Linked DNA regions of Homo sapiens: all the other regions are linked to region 1. The links are contacts of gene promoters, found by promoter capture Hi-C in blood cells and fetal thymus (Javierre and others, 2016). All regions are on one chromosome and are shown on one strand. The core of a region is centred on a gene start or on the middle of the fragment in contact, and the rest is flanking DNA. Distances in the headings are between cores, read along the strand shown.

Region 1 (2,763 bases), core at 264-2,763:
GCCTGGGCAAGGGAAAAAAAACAGTCTATTACCTGAAAAAAACAGTTAAATAAATTATGGTATACCCTTACTATAGAATAGTAGCCAGCCATTAGAAAGAATGAAGTAGAGCTATGTTTATAGTGTGCAAGGATCTCATTAAGTAGGGAAAAAGAAAAACCCAAAACAAAAATTTTTTAAAAATGAGCTGAGCAGAACAACTTGTATATTATTATCCTACTTAGGTAAAAATGAATTCCCAACCTATGTAAAAATGTATGTAAATAAATAGAAAGATCTGGAAGAATAAACTTCAAACGAGTAACCTTGGGGAAGAAGGATTGTAATGGTGGCTGATGAAAGAGGATGTACCCTTTTAAAGTGTACAATTCAGTGTTTCTAGTACATTCACAAAGTTGTGCAGCCATCACTATTATCTAATTTCAGACCATTGCATCATTCCACAAAGAAACCTATAGTTCGCAGTCATTCTTCATTCTTCCGTACCCCAGTAAAATTTTAATTAAAATTAAATTTAATTAAAATTAATTAAAAAAATTAAAGAATGATAAGGGAATAACTTAGAACTTCTAGAATGTTTTTTCTAGATTTGCAGGGGGAAGTGGGTAGAATCCAAGAACTTAAGCTCTCTTCTCCAACTATGCATAACCGCAAAAGTATGCCCAACTATACATATGTTTACGATAAAATGACAGAAATAAAAATCCACCACCCTCAAATTCCTTCTGTAACAGAAGTTACCCGTCTAATCACTCAAGAAATCTTATCCCCAGACATTGTGGGCAGAGCGGAGACTGAGGAGGGGAGGCCAGAAAGTGATGGGCGGAGGTGGGCAGGAGGGTACTCGACGGGGTAGGTGGAAAATACAGCGGTACAGCCTGTTTTCCATAGACAGTCTACCTCTCTAACCTTCATTAAACAAGTAGGCTAGATTAAAGAAATAACTCCTCTAGCTCAAGGAATTTGCCCTCTAGTACATTAACCCCTTGTTGCTGTAAGTGTAGCCTAGGGACCAGCAGCATTGGTGCCATCTGGACATGTATTAGAAACGCAGATTATCAGACCCTACTCCTCAATCAGAATTTGCACTTTCACAAGATCCTAGGGATTCGTATGTATATTAAAGTTTGAGAAAAAACGCTTTCCTGCACGCTCCAAGGGCACTTCACCACAGTAACCCCTAAAAAGCCTCAGTCCTGGGTCCCCCAGTCCAGTGCCTGGTAGGGCAGGAAGGGGGCGGGGCTAGGAAATGGGCGGGGCCCTGGACCAATGAGGAGCAGAGTCCCAGCCGCCTGCTCCCTTCAGCTGCCCCCTCCACCTTCACTGCACATTTGGCTAGGATATACAGGGCTACCTGTCCTCCTTTTCCGGCAGAAGCCATCTCTACGGTTCCTGGAACTTGGCCCGTTCAGCCCTGGGCCCGGAAGCTCGTTCTGACTGACAAGTCTACGGAACCTCGGAGTCAAAAGAACCGCCATAAGCTCGCGCGCTGGCTCCTCCCCTGGCACCATAGCCCCGCCCCACCTGACACCCGGGGCGGAGAGAAGTACTGGCTCCGCCTCTTCCGAACCGGCAGGAAGTGACGTCATGCCCCCGGCCGGCAGGTCTTTTAGTCTTTTTCCCCCTCCCTTACTCTTCGTCCCCGGTCCCTCCCCTCCCCACCCCTTTCCTTCTAGCTCCGACGTTTGCGGCCGCGGGGGCGGCGGAGGATATGGAGTAAAGCCAGAGTCAGTGGCCAGGCACGAAGGCAGAGCAGGAACAGCCAGGAGGCGTTTATTAGGGGGGCGGGGGGAAAGAGCCCCAGCACCGCCCCTCCTGGAAGAAGGAAGAGGTAAGTGACCGGCCGCCGGCACCGACCGACCTCCCTCACCGGCGGCTCTCTCGCCTGGGCTCCCGGAGCCGGCGAGGAGGGAATGGAGGACTCGCGCCCGGGTTAGGCCTCCCAGGGCCGCTCAGGCTGGTGGGTGTTGCCTGGTGACGGGCCTGCCGGCGGCCGGCCGGGCGATCGGCGGTCGGCGCCCGCGCAAAGCGGGGCTGGACGAGCAGCGAGCTCCGGGGAGCGGATCCGAGAGGGCCGAGTCCTCGAAAGAGGCCTTGAGGCGACGGGAGACCCGGGATCGAAGTCAGCTGCCGGAGGGAGAGCCCCCCATGCCGGCTCGAGAGCTCGGGTTTCGGTGGTGGAGAACGTAGTACCTTTCGGGGACATTGGACACTACTCTAGGACCGGGTGAGAGAGTTCACCTCAGTTCTGAGGTCCGGAATCCGGTAGCCTGGGTCACCAGCCAGGGCCCTGCCGCCCGCCGTCCTTCTCTGACAGTAGCTTTAGTTCTGGAATGGAAGGTTATTGTGTGTGAGGTGGGTGGGGCAGGGGTTTTGTTAAGAGAAAAAACCCCACGGTTACTCCTGCAGTCTTGTTTTTCTAAACGGGAGAATACGGATGGAGGAGGGTTTAGACCGATAAAGCTTGCAAAAACTTATTGGACTTTGAGCACATACCTGTGATCCGTAATTAAGGAGGCCATATTATCAAATCCACCCTCTAAGGCACTCGAGGAGGCTCCAGACAAGCTGCTTAAAAGCGCTATGCCTGTAGTGACTTCATTGGAAGGTGTCAACTATTTTTTAGTACGTCAAACTCAGGAATTATTTGTGATGACACTTTCTAAAAACATTGGATACTATGAGTGAGTTTTCTAAGTAGCCTATCTCCGTTCTGAAAAATAAATAGTTTAGCAAAAATGCTCCAAATCAGCCTGCCACTGT
Region 2 (3,007 bases), core at 209-2,708, 3.9 Mb after region 1:
ACTGTCACCTCATATGGTGTATATTTTCTTAAGGGCAGGTTGATATATGTAAAAGCTCAAGGGAATGCATACATCTGTTTAATGTTTTAAGAAATGCAAATTTGTATCCAAGAAAAGCAGTAGTCCCTTCCTCCACCCTCCATTCTTTGGCATCAACAACCAGAGTTTTGCATCAATATACAGTAATCCTTAAATTAAGATACAAGAGCAATGCAGGGAAGGAATAATTTGCCTTTTAAGGAATTTTGGTTAAACTTTCAATACTTTACAAATAAACCCCCCACTGATTAGTGCCACTGATATTGATCCGTTTGCTTTCATCACTTTATGTTGCTGATTAGTTTCCATACTAAGAGAGATGAAACCACCCCAGTGATTTGTAGCACGAACCACGCAACTATGGGGTCCATGCGGGTTAGTGGGATGCCATTTTTTTAAAGGTCGCAGGCTACCTAACCTTGTTTAAATTATCCTGTTAGAGTGCTTTGGGCGAGATTACGATTTGTGGGTGCTCTGTAATTCTTTGTTCTCTAAGACTACCGTTCTTTAAGGCCCTGCATATCCTCCCGCCTCCCACCACTAATGATTAAAACCTTAGTCCAATCCGAAGGGCTTCCTTCCCACCTTCGGGGCAAGTACAGGGACCGCAAACCGCCAGATGGCTGCATTCTTTACGCGCAAACCAGGCTGCGGGGAAGCTAAAGCCATGCCTTCCTCCCCACGCAGGTGCCTGGGTGGCCCCGGCCCCACGGCCTGGTCCCGGCGACCTGTCAGCCCTGCGAGTGCCAGGAGGCCGCCCCCAGAGCGCATCCCCTGACTCGCCCGGCCGCCCCGGCCCCGCGCCCAACGCCTGCCTCCCACCCGCCGCGCGGCCCCCGGGATGTGCGGGCAGACAAAGCGCCGGGCCCCGCCACAGCCCCGCGGGCGGGAGGAGGGCGCCCCCGGGGACTCGCGCCGCCGCCGGGGCTACGGGGCCAGGGCCCGGGCCGCGTCTCCCGCCCCTCGGCCGGCTCCCCGCACAAAATGGAGCCGGCCCGGGACGCCGTCGAGAGCGGGGCCCCGACGCAGCCCCGCGGCCCCTCCTCGGCCCCGGGCCCGGAGCTCAACGGCGGCGAGGGTGAGGTGGCCTGGCCCGCGTCCCGCCGCTCCTCAGCCCGGCGCACAAAGAGCCGCGCCGCGGCCCCGCGCCCGCTCCCCGGCCCGGCCCGCTGCGGGAGCGGCCTCGCAGGCGCGGGGCCCGGCCTCGGCCCGCGCGGGAGGGCGGGAGGCTAGTGCCCCCGGCCGCGGCGGCGTTGGCGGCGGGGACGGCGCCGGGAGGAGACGGACATTTCATTCGAGCTAAAGTGGAGTCGGTTTAGGAGCGATCATTGGCCGAAGCGAGACACAAACCTCCAATGCAGCCCTGGTTGGCTCCCGTCTCCAATCGGCTGTTTGGTTGGACAGAAAATGGCTGCGAAGGAACCAGTCCCAGCGCGGAGCTCCGCTTCCAGGACTCGGCCTCCCCTCCCTCCGCCGCGGGCCGCTTCCCTCGGCGCGACACCCTCCCTCCGCGCCGCCCGCGCGCCCGCCCGCCGCGGCCCCGCCCCGCCCCGCCCCGCCCCCGGCCCCGCCCCGCCCCCGGCCCAGTCCCGCGTTCCTGTGAGGCCTCCGCGCCGCTCCGGATGCCGCTCCTCTAGGCGCGAGGTCTTCCAGGGCCCTGCCCGGGCGCGCCGTTCGGGTCTAGGCGGGCCTCCTTCCCGGTGCTGACCCGGGCCTGTGCGAAGCGGGATCTCTCGGGCGTCCCTCTCTTTGTCACCCCTTCCCCCGCCACGTGGAGGTGCCTCAGCCGCCTGAGCTCAGCCTGCCTGCGCCTGGATTTTTAAGAAGGGGAAACCAAGGACAGAAGCCGCCCCCTAGGACGACGCGCCCGAGCCACCGGGAGGGTCTGAACGGCGGGGGCCTCCTGGAGCGCCTTCAGCGCCTCGTGTTTTCTTTCCTTGGGTCCCTGTTAGCGTCGCCGCATGCACAGCGCTCCCTGTCATTTGGTCCCTGAGCTTGGGTGTTTTTCACATTTCATCTAAAGATGCAGACCCCTGCTAAGTCTAGCCAGCCTTCACCCTGAATCTTGAACTTAAGATGCTGCATTTTCCACCCACCCCCACCCCTCTAGTAGCTGCAGATTGACAAGCGGCTTTTCCCAACCAGATGACATTTTGGCTGCAAGAATCCGTGGCCCGTTCTTGCCTCTGTGCAGCCAAGCTCCTTCGCTGTCTTTCTCAAACTGCAGTCCTGAGTTCAGCTTCGCTTAGCAGTGACCATCCCAGAGGTGGGTAATCCAACACTGGATCCACTCACTGCAACCGGAGCTGGGGATGGCATGCCCTCTGCTTCCACTAACCGAGTGGCCTGCACCACATTAAACTCTCCAGCTTTGATTATGTAAAAATACAGAGATCTTTTATTTATAGAGTTCCTACTGTTTCTCAGAGTATTTAAACATTTCTGCGGCAAGTATGGAAGAAAAGACAAATGAAAGCCCCAAATTGTGACAAGAGGAGTAAGTAGCAATGCCACTGTCATCAGACAACCTGACTTGAATTCCAACTCCCCTTCTTACAGGCTTGTGATCTTGGCCAAATGTCTGCTTCTCAGGGTTGTTTGGGATAATGTATACATAGAAAGCCCTTTAAAAAAAAAAAGTTATCCCAGCACTTTGGGAGGCCGAAGCAGGCCGATCACCTGAGGTCAGGAGTTCGAGACCAGCCTGACCAACATGGCGAAACCCCGTCTCTACTAAAAATACAAAAATTAGCCGGGCGTGGTGGTGGGCGCCTGTAATCCCAACTACTCAGGAGGCTGAGGCAGGAGAATCGCTTGAACCCGGGAGGCAGAGGTTGCAGTGAGCCGAGATCACACCATTGCACTCCAGCCTAGGCGACAGAGCAAGACTCCATCTCAAAAAAAAAAAAAAAAAAAGTTATCCTAAGATCTTTATATAGCATGAATTTCTTCAATCTCCATCAAACAT
Region 3 (2,700 bases), core at 201-2,700, 4.8 Mb after region 1:
TGTGGAATGTGGGAATAAATCATGGTCCCTGATACCAAAGAGCTGATGGTCTGTATTAGGCTGAATAACAGGTGCCCAAAGATGTTCATGTCCTAATCCCTACACCCTGTGAATATGTTACTTTACATGTTTAAAAGGACTTTGCAGATATGATTAAGGTAAGGATTTTTGAGATAAGGAGATTATCCTGGATTATCTGTGTGAGCTTGATGTAATCACAAGGGTCATTATAAGAGGAAGGCAGGTGAATCAGTCAATAGTAGGAAATGTGATGGGAGAAACAAGAGGTTCAAGTAATGCACAGAAGATGAGAAAGGCAAAGAAATAGATTCTTAGTGTCCAAGAGGAATCAGCCCTACTAACACCTTTACTTTAGCCCAGTGAGACTGATTTTGGCATTCTGACCTCTAGAACTAGAAGATAATAAATTTGTACTCTTTTAACCACTAAGTTGGTGACAATTTGCTACAGCAGCAATAGGAAACTAATACATAACTTAATAGTGAAGATAATTATGTCAATAGATAACTTTGAAGTGGTAAATACCATGGAAGCACAGGGCCGAAGCACTTGGTCCAACCAGGAATTCAGGGAATTAGATATAACGGTAATCTAGGCTGGGCGCAGTGGCTCACTCCTGTAATCCCAACATTTTGGGTGGCCGAGGTGGGCGGATCACCTGAGGTCAGGAGTTCAAGACCAGCCTGACCAACATGGCAAAACCCCGTCTCTACTAAAAATACATATAGTGGTAATCTATATGATTCCACAATCACTGATAACCAACCAGTACAAGGATTTTAGGATCCCTTAAATAAAAGGGCAGATTGGAAGAAGCCTTGAGTTACATGCTATGAAGCATAAATTCCATACCATAGGCAATGGGAAGGATCTAAAAGGGCATGACCTGATCAGATAGGTTTCGAGAAGCTTCACACAGAGAATGTGGACAGTGGAGAGAGAAGACCTGTCACACATCTATAGTGGTTGTTCAAGTGAGGGATTACTTTGTAAATAAATACATGAATTAACATATTAGGAATTTTTTAAACAGATACACGCAGGATTCTGTGACAAACTACTAAGTGAAATGTCTCTAGTGAGTTATTGCCATAGAATTTCTATTGTAGGAAGAAGATTTTATTTATTTTAGATTGTATTTATTTATTTTAAACTTTTATTTTAGGTTTAGGGGTACATGTAAAGGTTTGTTACATAGGTAAACTCATGTCACGGGGGTTTGTGGTACAGATTATTTCATCACCCAGGTATTAAGCCCTGTACCCAATAGTTATCTTTTCTGCTCCTCTCTCCACTCCCACCCTCCACTCTCAGTTAGCCTCCAGTGTCTGTTGTTTCCTTCTTTGTGTTAATGAGCTTTCCTCATTTAGCTCCCACTTATAAATGAGAACATGTGGTATTTGGTTTTCTGTTCCTGTGCTAAGTTTGCCAAGGATAACAGCCCCAGCTCCATCCATGTTCCTGCAAAAGCTATGATCTCGTTCTTTTTCTTGGCTGCATAGTATTCCATGGTATATATGTACCACATTTTAAAAATCCAATCTGTCATTCAGGAGCATTTAGGTTGACTCCATGTTTTTGCTATTGTGAATAGTGCTGCAATGGGAAGATACATTCCCATGCATGTATCTTCATGGTATAATGATTTACATTTCTCTGGGTAAAAATCCAGTAATGGGATTGCTGGGGTGAATAGCAGTTGGAAGAAGACTTTTAATGTAAGTTAATAAACAAATTCACCAAGAACTTAGCTATATAACATATATGTAAAATATTTTGGTATGGAATAAACTAGAACTTAAGGTGTGGGTATATGGGGCTGTAAGTTAAAGGCACAGATTCCTAGGAACTGGCAGGCAGGCACCTTCTGTAGGCAGCTGTTCTAAAGTTCACAGAAGCTCTCAGAATAGCACAATATTGCCCATATGAAAAGTTTCTCCTTCTATTTCCAAGCTTGCTTTTCAGAAAGTACCGTGTGAATGAAGAGTAGTAGAATGAAGAATATGTGATTACTTAAAATAATGATTTGCCTTCTGCAGACTACGTCTAAGAACAATAGGACATTTTTATAAATAACTTTCAGATAGCACTTTTCATTTAGTGAATGTGCTTTTCTATTTGGTATCTAATTTGTAATTCTCTAACAAAATTTGAAATTATAGGCTGTGAAATTTGATTTAAACATATTTAAGATCAAGACAGAAAATCCCTGAGTTTTTTTTTTTTTTTTGAGATGGAGTCTTGCTCTGTTGCCCAGGCTGGAGTGTAGTGGCTCAGACGACTTTCCTGCCTCAGCCTCCAGAGTAGCTGGGACTATAGGCAGGCACCACCATGCCCATCTAATTTTTATATTTTTAGTAGGGACAGGGTTTCACCACGTTGCCCAGGCTGGTCTCAAACTCCTGACCTCAAGTGATCCACCCACCTTGGCCTCCCAAAGTACTGGGATTACAGGCATGAGCCACCACACTGGGACTTGTGAGATCTGGGACTTCTGAGATCTTTTTAAGATAAATCTATATTGATTCATAATAGCAACCTGGTACAGTATGTGGTTGGTATTGTTCTATGTACCTTATATGTATTAACTAATTTAGTCCTCGTAAGAATCCCACAAGGTGTTTACTAGTTTTATTTTATTTTCATTTTATAGATGAGGAAATTGAGGCAGAGGTTAAA
Region 4 (2,798 bases), core at 202-2,701, 4.4 Mb before region 1:
GTTTTGTTTTGATGGGTTAAAGGTGAAATTGGCTAACTGGATATTTAAATTTCCCTGGTACTCTCAACAAATAAAAGTGAAAATTATGTACTAAAATAATAAGGAGTCAAAAGTTTTCTTCATTTGCATACCACAAAATATTGGTGATTCGGTAGAAGAGAGTTGGTGGTGGGAGGAAAAATAATTAATTAGATCCTTTTTTGTTCTTTGTGCAGAGTTTACCCCTCAATCCCAAACCTTTCCTCAATGGACTAACAGGAAAGCCAGTGATGGTGAAACTTAAGTGGGGAATGGAGTACAAGGGCTATCTGGTATCTGTAGATGGCTACATGAACATGCAGGTAAGCTAAAGAGCTGTAAAGGTCATAACATTGCATTTATTTTGCTTCACCTTATTTCTCAAAGGTTTAGTCTGACTAATAAGAATACATACAATTAAATTGACAAATATACGGCAAAATTCAAAAATAAAGTCAAAGCCAGGAGGGATACTGTGATATACTAGGTACAAGACATGGACTTAAACCAGAATTCAGCTACAGATTTTATTCCTAGTAGTTAAAGTAGGAAGAGCTCAGACACTTGATTCATAATAATACCATAAGGGAAACACACTACTTTGCTGGAGAAAACAAAACATTTCTCATCATTTAGCCCTGAAAGAAAGTTTTCAAGTGAAATTATTGAGTCTTTTAATGAATGCTAAAGGCACAACACCAAAGCTATTGAGGAAATTCATTCCTTCAGGGGAAAGACAGATCTGCCAAAGGAATTGAACTGACTGTATGTCTGTCAAACGAGTTTCTGTAAATGATTCAGCCATGTGTTTTGGTGGGTTTTTTTGTAATTAATTATCTTTTTATTGTGGTAAAATATACATTACAATTTTGCCACTCTAACCATTTTTAAGTGTATAATTCAGTGGCATTAAGTACCTTCACATTGTTCTGCAGCCATCACCGTTGTCCATTTCTGGAACTTGTTTACCATCCAAAAGTGAAATTTTTTGCCCATTAAACAATAATTTTCCATTAAACAATAATTTTACAATTAAACATTAAACAATAATTTTCCATTCCTTCCTCCACCTAACTAACCCCTGGTAACCACTAGTCTACATGTCTATGAATTTGACCGTGCATAATACCTCATGTAAGTGGAATTGTGTATTATCCTTTTGTGTCTGGCTTGTTTGACTTAACGTAGTGTATTATTCAAGGTTCATCCATGTTGTAGCATGTGTCAGAATTTCCTTTTTATGACTGAATAATATTCCATTATATGGATATACCACATTCTAATCCATTTGCCTCTTGGTGGACACTGGGTTGCTTCCCTCTTTGGACTGTAGTAAATAATGCTGCTGTGAACATGGGTATACGAATGTCTGTTCCAGTCACTGCTTTCAGCTCTTTGGGGTATATACCCAGAAGTGGAATTACTGGATTACTGGTAATTCTATGTTTAATTTTTTAAGGAGGCCAAGCGTGGTGGCTCATGCCTGTAATCCCAGCACTTTGGGAGGCTGAGGCAGCAGATTGCTTGAGCCCAGGAGTTTGAGACCAGCCTGGGCAACATAGTGAAACTGCATCTCTACAAAAAAAATACAAAAACTAGCTAGGCATGATGGTGTGGGCAGCTATATTCCCAGCTACTCAGGAAGCTGAGTTGGGAGGATTACCTGAGCCTGGGGAGGTTGAAGCTGCAGTGAGCTGTGATCACTGCACTCTAGCCTGGATGACAGAGAAATTTTTTTTTTTCTTTTGAGTAACTGTCACACTATTTTCCACAGCAGCTACGTGGTTTTACATACCCACCAGCAATGCACAACGGTTCCAGTTTCTCCACATCCTCACCAACACTTGTTATTTTCTATGGGTGTTTATAAAATAGTTATTCTAATGGGTGTGAAGTGGTATCTTATTGTGGTTTTGATTTGCATTTGGCTAATGATGTTGAGCACCTTTTCATGTGTTTATTGGCCATTTGTTTATCTTTGGAGAAATGCCTGTTCATGTCTTTTGCACATTTAAAAAATTAGTTTGGGATTTTTTGTTGTTTTTTTAATGGTAGTAGTTTCCAGGCAGGTTTTTAAAGGCTATCAAGACAGGTGGTCAATCCAATCATGAATCCAAGGATTCCATACTTGTAAGCAGAGTACTAAAAGGAGTACTTAAGTAGGCAGAGAGCTATGATTTTCCTTAACTTAGGCAATTACCACCTGAGCACATGACATTAAGGCCCCCAAAGCATAGTTTGAGTGTGGAAAATTCCTTAAACAGGAGTCATTTACCAAGACCATAGAAAAATCTGGGAAGTATATGAATTGTGATGAAAATATTCTGGAAGTAGTGGTGATAGTTGCACAGGTTTTTGAATATACTGAAAACCACTGAATTGTACACTTTAAAAGGGTGAATTTTATGCTATGGAAATTAACATCTCAATAATAAAAGAATTACCACTTAATATTTGTTTTAGAATTAATATAGCTTGCTAGTGACCCTGCTAGAGTTGCAAAATGTCTGAGTAACCAACCACTTTGAGTAGTCAACCATATTGATACCAGTGTTTGAATTTGTTCACTCAGCAAATATTTATTGAATTCCATTATGTGCCTGGCACTGTGAATATAGCATTGAACAAAACAAAGTCCCTGCCCTCAACAGTTTATGGTTTAGTGGTGGGAGGTGGTAATATAATGTGATAATAGGCATGATAGATGCCATCCATGAAGAAAAGGGGGAAGACAGTATGTGCAATATTATATAGAGTAGCCTCTCTGAGGAGGCGAATTC
Region 5 (2,700 bases), core at 61-2,560, 3.4 Mb before region 1:
GGGGAGAACATCTTAGGCACAGGGAGCAGCAAATGAAAAGACACTGAGGTGAGAATGACTTTGCCTTTGCATGAGGCAGAGAGAAGGCCAGTGAAAAGAAAGAGGAGAGTTACATGGGGGCCAGGACATGTAAGGCAGGCTAAGGAGGCTGGATTTCATTATCATTACTGTGAGGAGCCATTGGAAGGGTCAGCTAAGAGAATGCGACCTGGCTTATGTTTTAGGAAAATCACTTCAACTGCTTTGGTGACTGCACTGTTTGGAACAAAAATGAATGAGTTAGAGCCACTTGTTTTAGATTAGATTTTGACCTTTTTTTGAGTATGTCTATTCTTAAATGTTTTTAAAATACATTGTTTTAAACTATTTGTAGGCGCAGTCATGCAGGAAAACCTCAGATTTGCTTCATCAGGAGATGATATTAAAATATGGGATGCTTCATCTATGACATTGGTGGATAAATTCAACCCACACACATCACCACATGGAATCAGCTCAATATGTTGGAGCAGCAATAGTATCCTTTAAAAAAAAAAAACACACACACACACACACAAACCGCTTATTAGGTTAAACAACCACTGTCAATGAAACTTTTGCATGTGCCTCATACTGAGTAATGTGTTTTGCATTGCTACCAAGGATAGATAACGTAAAATAGTAATTTACAAAACAATATATCATATGAATGCACTCTGATTTTATCTGTTGCGTTCATTTAAAAAAAATTTAGTTACAACCCACTTCATTTGAAAACACTGCTATTAAAAAAAGTATATTCTGTCTACACCATAGAATTAGTTATCAAAAATTTCTTATTGAACCAAATGGAATAAGGTTGGTAGTTGTGGAAATAATTCCAAAAGGTTTTGGAATGAGTTTTTGCATCTACATTTGGGTATTTGTGGATCTGAACTGAAAATTAAAGACAGAACTTGAAGGCAGAAGCAAGTTGGGGAGGAGATAAAAAATTGCCCAATATCTCCATCTTACTAATGTACTCTCCATATCTTCCTTCCTCTCTGTGTGTGTGATGAAAATTACATTTCCTAAACAGACATAGTAAAGTTACCTAGATTGAACTTTTCTAAGCTTTTTATGTTTCTGATTGACACCTTCCCTGTCTTGGTGAGCTCCTCAATGTGGATAAAATAAAATGAGGGAGTGAAGACTGTAAACTAGGGTTTCTGAACCCTGTGCTATTGACTTTTTGGGGCAGAAAATTTGTTGTGGACCTTTCCTGTATGTTGTACCACGTGGAGGTTTATTGGTCTTCACCCGTTAGGTACCAATAGCCTCTAGTTGTGACAACCCAAAACGTTTCCAGAATTGCCTGAATCACTCCCAGTAGAGAACCACTGCTGTGACCACAGTGCTCCTATCACCTTTTATGTGAAAATGTTTTATGTAATTGGTATGTTAGAAATTTTCTTTTGTGAAACTCATACGCTATTTCTTAACAAATTAAGATTTAACATTTATCTGATTTTTATCAACACCAAAGTATTCTACTTTCTGATAAAAAAATCAAAGCTTTAAAATGTGACTGGTTCAGGAACAAAAATATTAAAAGTTTTATATGACTTACTATTCTTGCATGTATATAACAAGAAGGACAAATTTTCTTACTGAATTAAATTTACCTCCTTATCATTCCTTGATTTTGCAGTAAAACAAATTACTTTGGTACTCTGTTAATCAAACTCATGGTGAAGTGACTACATTTTTGAAGGACTTTCCAGATGTGTAATAGGGAAAATATTTTAAAGAGAGCGACAAGTATATGAAGTTGCTGTTCTCTATTTTTAGATTTTCATTATGTTTAGAGCTTAATTTTCCCTCTTACTATATAAGAGAAAGGTAGCAATTTGTAGTAAGATTATTTTTTGGTTGACTTTTGTTTTAAGTTTTACTAGGAGTTGGCATTTACTGATGTGCTACTTAATAGTCTAACAACAAAACTGATGTAGCTATGAGATAGTGTTGTATGACTTTTGGAAATTGGTCTTACAGTTTTCTTGCATGAGCAGATGTGCACTGAAAGCCTTCATACAGTCTTATTCTTAATAAGGCTTTGATCACTTCCATGGAGGTTAATTACTGAAGAACAAGGAGTTCCCAGCCTTAGCAACTTGGGGTCCACATAGTATAGATTCCAAGAATGGGGTTAATGTGAGACACCAGAGAGATTAGTTTTTTGTTTCTTGTCCTTTAACTTACGTTCCTCACTTTCTCATGATTTCTAAAACTACAAGAGAAATAAAAAAGAACTAGATTACCCACCCACATTATGTTTCAGTCCTTTTTTTTCTATATTCTAAGGAGAAAAGTAGTGGTAAACAGGAAGAAGTCAAGGAAAGGGAAATGGTTTTTCTCGCTATGGTAATATCTAGGTAGGAATGATTTGATTTGCATCATGTATCATAATAAAATTACAGTCTATGCTCTGTTTACAAAATACCTGAAAGTTATACAGAACATTCAAAAGTTAATGCAGTTAGGGATTCTGAGTGTCTAATTAACCTTTCTCCATTGCTTTTACTCACAGATTTTAATTGCTAAAAAGCACAGATTTAAACTTCTGATATTTTAATTTGTTATGGCTCTCAAAATCAGACTCTTATTCTTAGTTATATTATTGTATTTAATCATTTTAGTTTTAAAATAGTTACTGTTTTGTGTTTACTGATTGTTCCATTT
Region 6 (2,728 bases), core at 163-2,662, 4.2 Mb before region 1:
TCTAGTACCTAGTTCTGAATAGCTATTCAGAATAGCTAACTTGTTTTAAAAACTTGATTTGAGTATCTTGTGTTTATAACACATGCTTATATAGATGAATTAACTGGGTCATTTCCCAGTGGAACATATTCTGTTTTCTATATTGGCTAAACTTTCCAAATCTGTTCAGAATCAGAAGTGTCATAGTGACAACTATTTTTTGTGAAACGTTTTGATATCCCCTGTGTCTGTTATAGCTCTTGGCCCTACCCTTTCCTATAATACTTACTGTACTGCATTATAATGATTTCTTTTTCCATTAGACTAAGGGTTCTAAAACAGAGAATGTTACTTAGGTCTGTATTCCCAGGGTTTAGCACTCTGCCTCAAAAACACTAGGTGTCAATTAATGCATGAAGCAGGTCCTAGACCAAGAGAAAACAAAAAATGCAATGTTTAAGCTGTATTATCTCAAGTCCTAAGTCTCAACTATCATTTGCAAACTACTTTTTAAAATTCCCCTTCAAATTTCAGCGATGTTATTTTTAAAAAATAGTCAAAAACTGTAATAAGAAAGAAAAATAAAGAAAACTGGATTGTTGACAAGTTGGATTTAGTACTTTTTAAGAAACGTGTTAAGCATCAACAGCTCTACTAATTATAGGATATAATTTATATGTTTCACAGTATCCTCTTTGAACAATACCCTCCATCCCCCTAAAAAGCAGTTGTACTTCTCAGTAGCTGGTCAGTTGACATGGAATAGGTATCTGATTCCTTTTTTGCACAGGCTGGTAGGAAGCTCCATGTCAACCCTGTGGCCCACTTCTTTTAAAGTATAGAGGGCTTTATGCCATGGGTTTTGTTTCTCCTATCCCTATTCTCTCTTCCTGCAAATTATTTAATTATTTTTAATCTTATACTATATATGTTGCTTCAAGCAGTCTCAGTCCTTTCTAGAACAAAGCAGAGTTTTTTTAAAAAAAGCTTTATGCCTCATTATGATGTCTAAATTTACATTTTCTACTTGCTATGTGCAGGGATATGATGAAAAAAAATAGGTTTATGTGTGAAACACAAAGCTAAAACTAAAAAACCACCTTGATTTGATTCCCAGTTGAGACATTTACTTAGTGAAAACAAGATGGTTTGCAGTCAGAATTACCTATTGTTAACTGCTGGCTTCTGCCTTGGCCATGGCACTAAAACCTCTTGAGCCACTAACCAAAAGAACACCTAAACATTTCTGAAGGTTTCAGTGAAAAGAAACAAATGTATGAAAGTTATCATAAATTTGGAGGATCAAACTTCAGTGTAAATAACCCAAAACTTGAAAAGAATTTTAGAAAGCTTAGAATTTGTCCGATTAAGTCTCCTTCAGCATTCCTCAACATCACAAACTCTAAGAACGGAGAGGAAAAGAAGACATGACGTCTCTCCTGATTCCGCACTGGCACTGGGTCTTCCCATCTCACCTCTGAAATACAGCTGGCACTATTATCAATGTAGCCCATGTTAAGCTTAGGCACTGTTTTCTAATTGAAATCATCCATTAATCAAACTTTTGAATGTCCTCTACATGCCAGACATAGACTATACTAGGAAGCTGAGATACAAAGAGTTATGAAACACAGTCTCTACATTCAAGAGTCCACAATCTAGTGGAGGAAAGAAACAAGTTAACTTTAAATAAATACTAATTAACTAATTAATAAGGATAAGCTCCTGGTCTAAGGCTTTTGTCATAAATAAGCAAACAATTATAAACATGTTATTTTGTACCATAAATTGCCTTCCTTGTATAACATGTAACATTATTATAATTCCAGGCTCTAATTTGCTAAACAGACATGCCAACCAGAAATCACTATTTTAAAATCTTACTTTTCTCTAGATTTGGGGAATGTAAAAACAATGAGCAGATTTTTAGATTGGGACATTCTTTTCAAAATTTAAACATCCTGACTCTTGCTTACTTATAGAACAGAGATAAAGTTTTTATTCTACAAAAGTGATGAGAACACATGGATACACAGTGGGGAACACACACTGGGGCTTACTGGAGGGTGGAGGGTAGGAGAAGGGAAAGGATCAGGAAAAGTAACTAATGGGTACTAGGCTTAATACCTGGGTGACAAAATAATCTGTACAACAAACCCTCATGACACAAGTTTACCTATGTAACAAACCTGCACATTTGAAGTACACCTGAACTTCAAATAATAAATTTTTTAAGTTTTTATTTTACAAAACAAAGGTAAGTGTGAGGTCACATTAAGCAGCAAAAAGCTATAAAAATTTTCATTCTTTTACTTTTATCAGCATAGTTTATAATTTAATTTTTTTAAATAAAGGTGAAGAACAAGAACTTTCCAGTTAACTAAGAGCTTTGAGTGGGTTTGGGGCTTAGTCAAGGTTTTATTATATCTTAAACCAATTGGAATATTTCTTCTGAAATATATGTTGCAGCTAAAGATTCAAGGAAGAATTTGCTGTTCATATATTAGAAAAACCTCTTTAAATTTCTTCCACTAGCGACCTCGGTTTTGGTTTGCAATTATTCACATCTGAACACAAGTGTCCTGAATTGCTTAATTTTTAAATCTCTAGTACTTTTGAATGTAGGACGTATAAACTCATGTTCAAATATGGCAGTCTCACAGTGTGGTTTTTCTTTTTTTATTATTATACTTTAAGTTCTGGGGTACATGTGCAGAACGTGCAGGTTTGTTACATAAGTATACACATG

Evidence for each region. The method cuts DNA at HindIII sites, captures the fragments that hold promoters and counts their contacts. A CHiCAGO score of 5 or more calls a contact.
Region 2: the fragment with the promoter of NFYB here is called in contact with the fragment with the promoter of DEPDC4 in region 1 in 1 of 17 cell types (neutrophils); the score reaches 7.3 in neutrophils.
Region 3: a fragment that was not itself captured here is called in contact with the fragment with the promoter of DEPDC4 in region 1 in 1 of 17 cell types (neutrophils); the score reaches 5.2 in neutrophils.
Region 4: a fragment that was not itself captured here is called in contact with the fragment with the promoter of DEPDC4 in region 1 in 1 of 17 cell types (non-activated CD4 T cells); the score reaches 5.8 in non-activated CD4 T cells.
Region 5: a contact is called between a fragment that was not itself captured here and the fragment with the promoter of DEPDC4 in region 1, in 1 of 17 cell types (fetal thymus). The highest score is 5.9, in fetal thymus.
Region 6: a contact is called between a fragment that was not itself captured here and the fragment with the promoter of DEPDC4 in region 1, in 1 of 17 cell types (total CD4 T cells). The highest score is 6.7, in total CD4 T cells.

Annotation. Positions count from the first base shown.
Region 1 is chr12:100,265,566-100,268,328 of GRCh38, forward strand. DEPDC4 (DEP domain containing 4) reads right to left here and starts at 1,514. Exons shown (of 10, transcript NM_001364818.2): 1 at 1,355-1,514. The coding sequence starts at 1,511. It overlaps SCYL2 (SCY1 like pseudokinase 2), which reads left to right and starts at 1,612. Exons shown (of 18, transcript NM_017988.6): 1 at 1,612-2,227. RefSeq lists enhancers at 1,357-1,436, 2,107-2,176, 2,187-2,246 and silencers at 1,807-1,856, 1,957-2,036. The HindIII fragment of the contact is 4,398 bases long and covers 1-2,461 here.
Region 2 is chr12:104,136,752-104,139,758 of GRCh38, forward strand. NFYB (nuclear transcription factor Y subunit beta) reads right to left here and starts at 1,459. Exons shown (of 8, transcript NM_006166.4): 1 at 1,390-1,459. RefSeq lists enhancers at 18-611, 612-1,203, 2,027-2,196 and silencers at 823-952, 1,013-1,092, 1,193-1,292, 1,343-1,642. The HindIII fragment of the contact is 8,431 bases long and covers 1-3,007 here.
Region 3 is chr12:105,103,457-105,106,156 of GRCh38, forward strand. The region is part of intron 1 of LOC414300 (a long non-coding RNA gene); the gene reads right to left. Among named protein-coding and RNA genes, the nearest start is that of WASHC4, 2.9 kb to the right of the region's middle. The HindIII fragment of the contact is 1,044 bases long and covers 929-1,972 here.
Region 4 is chr12:95,860,953-95,863,750 of GRCh38, forward strand. SNRPF (small nuclear ribonucleoprotein polypeptide F) reads left to right here. Exons shown (of 4, transcript NM_003095.5): 2 at 216-341. Among named protein-coding and RNA genes, the nearest start is that of SNRPF, 3.4 kb to the left of the region's middle. The HindIII fragment of the contact is 5,419 bases long and covers 1-2,798 here.
Region 5 is chr12:96,909,379-96,912,078 of GRCh38, forward strand. It overlaps NEDD1 (NEDD1 gamma-tubulin ring complex targeting factor), which reads left to right. Exons shown (of 16, transcript NM_152905.4): 3 at 374-517. The coding sequence starts at 382. Among named protein-coding and RNA genes, the nearest start is that of NEDD1, 3.5 kb to the left of the region's middle. The HindIII fragment of the contact is 441 bases long and covers 1,091-1,531 here.
Region 6 is chr12:96,030,909-96,033,636 of GRCh38, forward strand. All of the region lies in intron 1 of LTA4H (leukotriene A4 hydrolase), which reads right to left. Among named protein-coding and RNA genes, the nearest start is that of LTA4H, 3.3 kb to the right of the region's middle. RefSeq lists an enhancer at 1,974-2,143. The HindIII fragment of the contact is 170 bases long and covers 1,328-1,497 here.